Linked DNA regions of Homo sapiens: all the other regions are linked to region 2. Evidence: promoter capture Hi-C in 16 types of primary human blood cells and fetal thymus (Javierre and others, 2016). All regions are on one chromosome and are shown on one strand. Each heading gives the region's core, a stretch centred on a gene start or on the middle of the fragment in contact. The rest is flanking DNA. Distances are from core to core; before and after follow the strand shown. Region 1 holds the start of ABCC3 (ATP binding cassette subfamily C member 3). Region 2 overlaps ANKRD40CL (ANKRD40 C-terminal like). Region 3 holds the start of EPN3 (epsin 3).

The links. Contacts are between HindIII fragments. The CHiCAGO score rates a contact against its expected background, and 5 or more counts as called.
Region 1: a contact is called between the fragment with the promoter of ABCC3 here and a fragment that was not itself captured in region 2, in 1 of 17 cell types (M2 macrophages). The highest score is 5.1, in M2 macrophages.
Region 3: the fragment with the promoter of EPN3 here is called in contact with a fragment that was not itself captured in region 2 in 2 of 17 cell types (M2 macrophages and M0 macrophages); the score reaches 6.8 in M2 macrophages.

Annotation. Positions count from the first base shown.
Region 1 is chr17:50,633,431-50,636,130 of GRCh38, forward strand. It overlaps ABCC3 (ATP binding cassette subfamily C member 3), which reads left to right and starts at 1,451. Exons shown (of 31, transcript NM_003786.4): 1 at 1,451-1,551. The coding sequence starts at 1,507. RefSeq lists a silencer at 1,421-1,470. The HindIII fragment of the contact is 5,138 bases long and covers 1-2,700 here.
Region 2 is chr17:50,764,627-50,767,326 of GRCh38, forward strand. ANKRD40CL (ANKRD40 C-terminal like) reads right to left here. Exons shown (of 4, transcript NM_001358683.3): 2 at 2,248-2,385. The coding sequence starts at 2,287. Among named protein-coding and RNA genes, the nearest start is that of ANKRD40CL, 1.5 kb to the right of the region's middle. RefSeq lists a silencer at 1,012-1,061 and an enhancer at 1,362-1,451. The HindIII fragment of the contact is 4,284 bases long and covers 1-2,700 here.
Region 3 is chr17:50,531,391-50,534,090 of GRCh38, forward strand. It overlaps EPN3 (epsin 3), which reads left to right and starts at 1,345. Exons shown (of 10, transcript NM_017957.3): 1 at 1,345-1,595. MYCBPAP (MYCBP associated protein) reads left to right here. Exons shown (of 19, transcript NM_032133.6): 19 at 1-111. The coding sequence ends at 38. RefSeq lists an enhancer at 2,211-2,700. The HindIII fragment of the contact is 5,271 bases long and covers 1-1,598 here.

The DNA.
Region 1 (2,700 bases), core at 201-2,700, 130 kb before region 2:
GAAAGAACTTGCCCAGTGGAGGGGTAGAAGTCCCTGGTCTGACTGCCTGGGAAAGGGGAATCTTCTCCACTCCCACCCCTATCCCATGCCCAGCCAGATCTTGGTTCTGATAGCCTATAGCCAAGGAGACTTCCCTTCTAGTGACCTCCTGGCTGCCCAGAGAGATAGGAGGTGGCTTGCCCCTTCTGCACTCTTACTGGCTCCCACCCACACCTGCCGCTGAGCAGCCAAGGAAGGAAACACCTTCTCTTGAGAACAAGGGCCAGAAAAGGGGTCACCGGGGTGAAACTGGACAGACCTGTGGGCAAAGGCAGGGAAGAGAAGGGCCAGGGAAAGATTTGCCAGGGAGAATTCCTTCTGAGCCCCAACAAGCGGTGCTGAGTTGGCGTCTGGGATTGTGTTAAGGAAGACAGGGCAACAGCGGGATTGAGAGATGGAGGGATCCCCGCATCTGAGGGGATACCGGGAGAAGGAGAGCTGAGGCAAGCAGGAGAAGGAGAGCACTGACAAGCCCATTTTACAGATCAGGAATGTAGAGTTTCAGCCTTAGGAGGAGGACGAGGACGAGGACACTCACGTGGGGCTCCTCCTGGGGCTTCACCTGTCCTTCCCCCCCCAACCCTGATCAGGCTGAAGCAGAGGGAATTCACACATGTTGGGTGCCCACTAAGTGTGCCAGGAAATACGCTTTGCCTACCCTTTCCATTCAATCCTCAGAGAACCCTGGGAGGAAGATTCTCTTCTATGATTGTCTCTATTTTACGGATGTGAAAGTAGAGGCCCAGAGACGTGCCGAGGTGATGTGGCAAGGTCAGGGAGCCACAGAGCCTAAGAGGGCAGCAGTTTAAGAGGACATAAGAGGCCCCCGCTGGACGATGCTGCGGCCCCCACCCCCGCCTCACGGGTACACACCCGCGGAGCACACCCCGTGTGCTCCCCGTGTGGCGCCTGCCAGTGGTCTCTGGAACCTGATGGGGAAGAGGTCAGCTTCCTGATTGAGCACAGAAGCCCTTCCCATTTTACAGATGAGGAAACTGACCTCCGGAGAGGAACGTGACCTTCTCAAAGATTCCTTTTTTACTAGGAAAGATTGTTAAATCCCTCTCCCTACGTCCCCTACTCAATGACTCATCGGCCCCACGGACTTGTTCGGGAGTGGGAGCGCCTGTGTATCCCAGTTCCCCCTTGGAAATAGACTCGACTCCTGGACTGTTAGCCTCGGTATTTAGAGAGACATCCCCCTGGCTTGGCCCAGGGGCCGCTCGCAGGGGCTGTCGCCGTGCCAAGGGCCCCCCCACCTCTGCCCCAAAGTCCCTCCCAGGGAGGCGCTGTCGCAACCCGCGGGACGGGGGCAGGGAGACCGGACCCAGAGGCACTGGGGTAGGGCTCGGCAGGGCGGGTCCGGGCGGAGCGCGGGGTGCGGAGGGCGGAGGCGGCTCCGGCGCCCGCTCTGCCCGCCGCTGGGTCCGACCGCGCTCGCCTTCCTTGCAGCCGCGCCTCGGCCCCATGGACGCCCTGTGCGGTTCCGGGGAGCTCGGCTCCAAGTTCTGGGTAAGGCGCGGGGCTCCGGGGTCACTGCGCGGGGGCCAGGGTCGGCCGGCTTCGCCCGGTCCCCGCCGCCTGCCTTCCCGCGGGGCCGGCAGGTATCCCGGGACGGAGCCCCTGAGACGGCCTGGGCGCCCGGGAGGGGGCGATGGGCTCGGGAGGGAGGTTGGCTGCGCCGCCCGGAGCCGGGTCCCACGCGGTGTCGGGGACCTGCCCTGCTCTGCCCTTCCCGGCTGCAGCACTGGGGAGCCCGGGAAAGTGAGGAAGAGTGCGCGGCTGGGGCGCAAAGGCACAGTGCGTGGCTGGGTGAGTCGGCTCCATCCCAGCCCCTCCGTCGGGTGCGGAAGGGGCGTTTCGCAATCAGCCGCGGGTTCCTGATGGAGGGTCTTCCCTCAGCATCTGCCTCAGGTTAGGACTCGGTTGCCCACCTGGGCATGGATTGCCCCCAGGGCATCCAGAGCACCTGCTCAACCAGGTGTTTTGGGAGGCCGGCTGTGCAGTGTCCCACCCTTCTTAGGAAGGTTTCCTGCCACCTTCTTTTCTCTAGGTAAGACTGAGGTCTGAGAGCAGGCCATCCCCACCACTCCGGACTCAGAAGGGAGAAGCAGACCCCAGTCTGGAGACAGGTGCAGGGTGTCAGGATTCCTGTAGTCCAACTCCCTTCTCACAGATGGAGAAAGGGAGGCCCAGAGAGAGGAAGGGACTTGCCCAAAGTTACCCAGTTCAATGAAGGCAGAGCTGGGATAGAAAAACAGGCTACAGGCCAGGTGCAGTGGTTCACGCCTGTAATCCCACCCTTTGGGAGGCAGAGGTGGGAGGATCACTTCAGCCCAGGAGTTTTAGATTACTGTGAGCTATGATCGCACCACTGCACTGTGGCCTGGGCGAAAGAGTGAGACCCTGTCTCTAAAAAAATAAATAAATAAGAAAAGAAAATCAAGCCTTTGGTGACTCTCACTCCAAATCTCTTTCTAAGACAGGCTGCTCTTCAGCCTGCTGACTCCAGCCTCCAGCACAGTTCAGGTGAGCTAAGTGCATACAGCCTAGGAGCTTTCTTACCAACTTGCAAAACTTACTTGCCTCTATGAGGCAAGTGATCATGTGGTCTCCGTTTTACAGAGGGAGCTCAGATTAAAGGTGCTTCTCTGTGGTCAT
Region 2 (2,700 bases), core at 172-2,671:
CAGAGGGAAGGGAAAGGAGTGAATATTTAGAGTGCTTTGCATATGCCAGGCCTTTTGTGTATTTCTTTCTTTCTTACAATATCCACTGAACATGTTGAAAGCCTGCTTTGCACCAGGCACTGGGCTAAGCCCTGGGGAAATCATGTTCAAAAATCCCAAAGATGTCTCTGTGCTCCTGGAGTTTGCAGGCCAGCAGAAGAGACAGATATTAATAAATGGGAAATCACAGTTGTCGGGGCATGATGAATGTGAAATACACAGTACTTTGAAAGCATGTTAGGGGTCAAGGGAGGCCTCCATGAAGGTTGATTATTTGAGCTGACATCTGAAGGATGAATAGGCTTCACTAGATCCAGAGGGCAGAGGAGGTGAAGAGCTTTTCACAGGGCCCTGTGGAGAGTTCAGCATGGCTGCAGGGCAGAGAGCATGGGGGGACTGAGTGTCAGACAGGCTGGCAGGGGCCAGTTAGTCCAATTATGTAGCTTCTTGTCACATGAGATAAGATACACGATAAGGTAAAATATACCCTGGATTTTGGAGGCAATAAAAAATTTTCATACTTATATGTTGACATAATGATTTGCATATAGCGGGCAAAGTATATTATTAAAATTAGTTTCACCTGTTTTTACTTTTTAAAACATGGCTACTAGCAATTTTAAATTACATATGTGGCTTGCATTACATTTCTATTGGGCAGCATTAGTCTAGATGAAAGGTTTTGGTCTTTGTCCTAAAACACCACCAAGCCATTCTGGTTTTTAGCAGAGAGCTGTCATAATCAGACTTGCATTCTGGAAAAGAGAAAAGCCTCACTGTCCCCAAAAGAATCCTGTGGGGTATGCACATTATTATTTTCATTTTCAGACAGGAAAATTGAGGCTGAAAGGGGAAGTAGTTTGTTCAGGTTGGTAAATGGCCAGATATGGATGTGACCAGGGCCAACTACATAATTTGCAAAGCCGAGTGCAAAAGGAAAATGAAGAGGAAGCCAATTTCCCCTTCTCACAGCCGCTGCTCTAACCCAGGGCAAATGGGTGACGCCCAGGGTATTGCGACCTCCCCACTTGAACGCACCAACTAGCTGGATGGGGGTGGGTGAGAGTGTCCAGGGCTGCCTGCCACTCCTCAACTTCTGATCCTTGTTTTGCCTGGGCAAAGGTGACAGCGGAATGAGGGACTCTGGCAGAGGGTTACAGCAGTGGTGGGGCTGGTCTGGGTGTGGAGACCATATGTATGAGCTGAGGCTCCAACTCCCAACCCTGGCACATGCTCCATTGTCCCATCGGACACCACTTACAAAACAAGTTCAGGGCTAAAATTATGACACATTTCAAGTCAACAATCACAGAATGTTGAACCCCAAGCCCAGGGCCTTTCTGAATGCAAGGCCCTGGGCAGCTGCACTGATCACAGACTTATGAAGTCAGCCCTGTTTGTGCCACCCTGCCAGATGCCTCCAAGGAGATGAGACGCTCCTGCCCAACTCAGCCCCTTCCCAGGACAGGAATAATGTCCCCTCCCCTAGTGAGCGGGGATCTGCAGTCTTCTCTTTGCCTTTCAATTCTGGGCCCTGGAGGTGGCTCAGGGCTGTGGCTCCTTCTCAGGCAGCCCCTGTAGCAGCTGGGCCCCAGCCCACCTGCCAGTACCTGACCTGATATCGATACCTGATAGAGATACCAGAACCTGACCTGAAACGAGGCCTTCCTGCCTCACTGCTAACTCACCCAACACACAGCCCGAGAACTTTCCCTGCCCTGTCCACTACGTTTGAAAGCATTTTATTCTGTGGTCAATGTGTCAGCTCTGTGAACGGCCAGAGTCTCATAGAGGTCACAAAGCATGCCCTTTGCACTCAGGCAGATTTGGGTCTGAATTCCTCTGCCACTTAGTAGCTTTGACACCTTGGGCAAGTTACATAACCTCTCTGATCTGAAAATGAGGTTAACAATCCTACCTCACCAGATTGTAAGAAGTCAATGAGAAAGTACACAGAAGGTACAACTTCCTAGCAGTTGTGAGCACCAGTAATTGCTGGCTGCTATTATTATTTATTATAGCTATAGACACTTGCTTCCTTCTGAAAGGACCTTTGGTCTAGTTGCTCTGCTCTTCACTACCCCACTGGCAGAGTGGCGGAGGCCACAGGGCACTGCTGGCCACAGCATCACCTGTGTCCCAGCCTTCCCCAGCCCCCTGTCCCATCCTCCTTGAGGACCATGTTGGGAACAGGACTCCCAGACTCACCTGCTGGCTTCTCCCCGATGTCCTGTTCCGGTTCAGCCATGAGTCACCTCTAGTCCGTCAGATGTGCAGCCCCTCTCGCATTTATGCACAAGCTCCCAACCAAATAAAAAGCACTTTCTACAGCCTCAGCACATCTGTCTGCAAGGTAACAACAGTGTGTTCTTGCCAGCCCAGTGAGATAGAGCAGGGTCATTTTTATTTTATAGATAGGGAAAAGGAGGCTGCAGCGTGTGGCATGATTTGCACAGGGTGAGGCCAGTGAAGGAAGGTACTGAAGTAAGGCTCCAGACTCTCTTCTCAGGCTGTCCCCACTGGAAGACGGTGCAGGCCGGTAGTACTCACCCGAGGGAATGGTGCCCTTCGGAGGGGAGGCCAGAGAGGCACAGCAGGCACCCAGCCAGACCCGAGAAGGGGGCCAGGCCCTCTTTCTTGGAAAAGGTTGGTAGCTTCTAC
Region 3 (2,700 bases), core at 95-2,594, 230 kb before region 2:
TAAAGAATGTCGAGGAGGCTTTGCGCCTCTGCAGGTGACTCTCGGGCCCAAGCAACCTTCTGGAAAACGGGTTAATAAATAAATCAATAAAGAACCTTCAAGTTTCTACTACTTCCGTGTGCCTCTGTGTCTTGCATGATGGATCTTGGCTAGGTCAGCTCCTGATCCAGGTCCTCCCATGTTCCACCTGCCCTCAGATCCCCTCCTGCCAGCTGCCAGAGCCCTCCTGCAGGAGGACAGACAGACATAGCTGGGGAAGTGATGTGTGGGATGCCAAGCAGAGGAGCAGATTGGTAGCAAGACAAGGAGTCAGGTGACAGGACAGTGTGTCACCTCTGGTAGTCCCTGCCTCTGGCTTCCTTGGCCCACACTTTCAGGGTCGTGCTTCCTGGAGCCAGGTCTTCCCGAAGTGTCATCACCAAGTATGACAAAGTGTGAGATGAGGAGTAGAACTAGACCCATGGGACCTGGCTCCCTGCCATCTCCCCTCTTCAGCTGGGTCCCAGGGCCCCAATTCAGTCCCTGAAGATCATGCTCACCACACCTCTTCAGCTCTAGAGGCCACATCACCTTGTTATTTCGGGGTCTAGTCTGCCTTATCCCCCTCCTCATCTCAAACTATCTGGCCTTGAGCCATCTTTCTGCCTTAAAAACAGCTGCTGATCTTCATGCTACCTCCCTTGCTCAGGGGAACATGAAACAGGCTAGAAATGGCTCTCAGAAAAAAAGGTATTGTCAGCTCAAACTCAGGCCCCTCATTGTCTTCTGTCAGTCATAACCATTTGGGGCTGGGCTCCCTGTGTGAAGAGCACTCCAGGCTCCCAGAGTTTGAAGAACAACTTTGGTTTTTGGGTGGGTGGGCATCCTTAAGTGGGCCTCAGGCATCCTCCAGCTGAGATGCAGGAGGGGGAGGATGGACAGAAGGATCTGACTCCGTGTGGGAAAGGCAGGGAGGGGGCTGTGCTGGAGTCCTGATGCTCTCCTCCCCAAGAAGACGAGAAGACGGGGGCTCCACCAAAGAGCCAGCCCCAGGGAATGTCCCTGCCCTCTCCTTTAATGTCCTCCCGGCCCAGAGGAGGAAGGGGAGGGGTGTGGTGGGGGTGTTGGAGCCCCCCTCCTTTCCTGTTGAAGAGGCAGGGGAAGGGTTAACTCAAAGCAGAGGGGATCAGGTCGCCAGCACTGGCTCCAGATGTGCACTTCCTGGGGGCGGCCAACAGGCAGGCCCCCCACCTCTCAATGCACCACTTGCCTGGCCAGCAGGAAGGGGTTAACCTGCCCTGCACTTCCTCCTGTGTCCTGTTACTGCTGAGGCAGACCTGCCGGGCCAGCTGAGCAACTTTCCTCGGAGTGCTGCCTGGCGCTGGCTAGGAGGCAAACGCACGCGGGAAGAGCTGCTACCCATTCCAGGGACCCTGCCGCTGCCCCTCTGAGGGGTCTGCACCTCCTGGGAGCAGGTGGGTCTCTGGGACGAGGGTCCATGGTGGATGGCTCTGGAGACGCTCCCGAGGCTGTGCCGTCCCGCTGCTGCACAGGTCGGAGGGTCACCGCAGAGGCTACTCGGGCTGGGGCTGGGGCCGAGGGAGCCCGCACTGGAGGTAAGCTTCCTCCCTGGCCCCCTCCCTGGCAGTGGCGGCATGGAAGGCGGGGGTTGGTGGGGAGCAAACAGTGGTTCTGGGGCTTAGTCTCTTTTCCAGGTGCGAGGGAGAAGGCTGAGCTGTAGAGGACCTAAAGGCTTCTTTCCTGCCACCCCTCCCTCCCTGCCGCCCCCAAAAAGGGACTCAGGGCCCCCTCCCCAACCATCCTGGGACTTAGCATCTTTGGTGGCATCTTAGCATCTTTGGTGGCATTCCCCACAGACTCCTTCTGCACATCTCTGCTGTTTCCTCTTCTTCAGCCCCTCATGCACACCTCTAGCCTCAGGGCAGTCCCCCCTCCCCCATCTTCTGTGCTCCCGGGATGCAGCTATTACAGTGGCCAGAAGCTTAGAGTTCAAGCTCACCCCCTGTCCCTTACAGCATCAAGAAGGGCACTGTCATTCCCCACTGCTCAGGCTGGATCTGACTTGGAGGCAGGGGCTGGAGCCCACCTTAGCAGAGGACGGGAAGAGGGTGTGGGCTGGGCTGGTGGGTGCACAGACTTTACGCAAACTCATGCACGTGTGACTGGACAGATCTGGGTTCTCTCCATCTCTCCGAAACCCTTGCTGGGGATGAGCGATCTGCATTTTTCGGTCCTGACTTTTGGGAAACTCTCCAGATCCCCCCATCCTGCAGGCCCTGAGAAGAGCAGCCCCTCCCTACTGCGCAGTTCTCCTTGGGACCCTGTATGCAGGAGAGAGCTGATACTCCGTGCCCCGTGGCCCATCCCACCGCCTGCTGGCCCTGCTCCCATCCCCTCAGCTTCCTCCCTCCTCTGCCCTCTCGTCATCTCTGAATTCTCAGGCCCTGCCCTCTCTGTGCCCTTCCCTCCACCTGACAGGGTCTGGCTCAAGGTCACTGCAGTAATTCCATACCCAGCTGCCCAGGGCTGCTGCTGCTACCGCCACCGCCTTATCGGCCGCTGGGTTTCTGTTACACTCCCTTTTATTTCTGGGCATATCGTGTTCGATAAAACCCTTTGCTTGTAACACTGCTGGCAGCGCTCCCAGCTGCTCCCTCCCGCGTTCCCGCGTTCCTTCCTTTCCTCCTCCCTTCTCTGCGC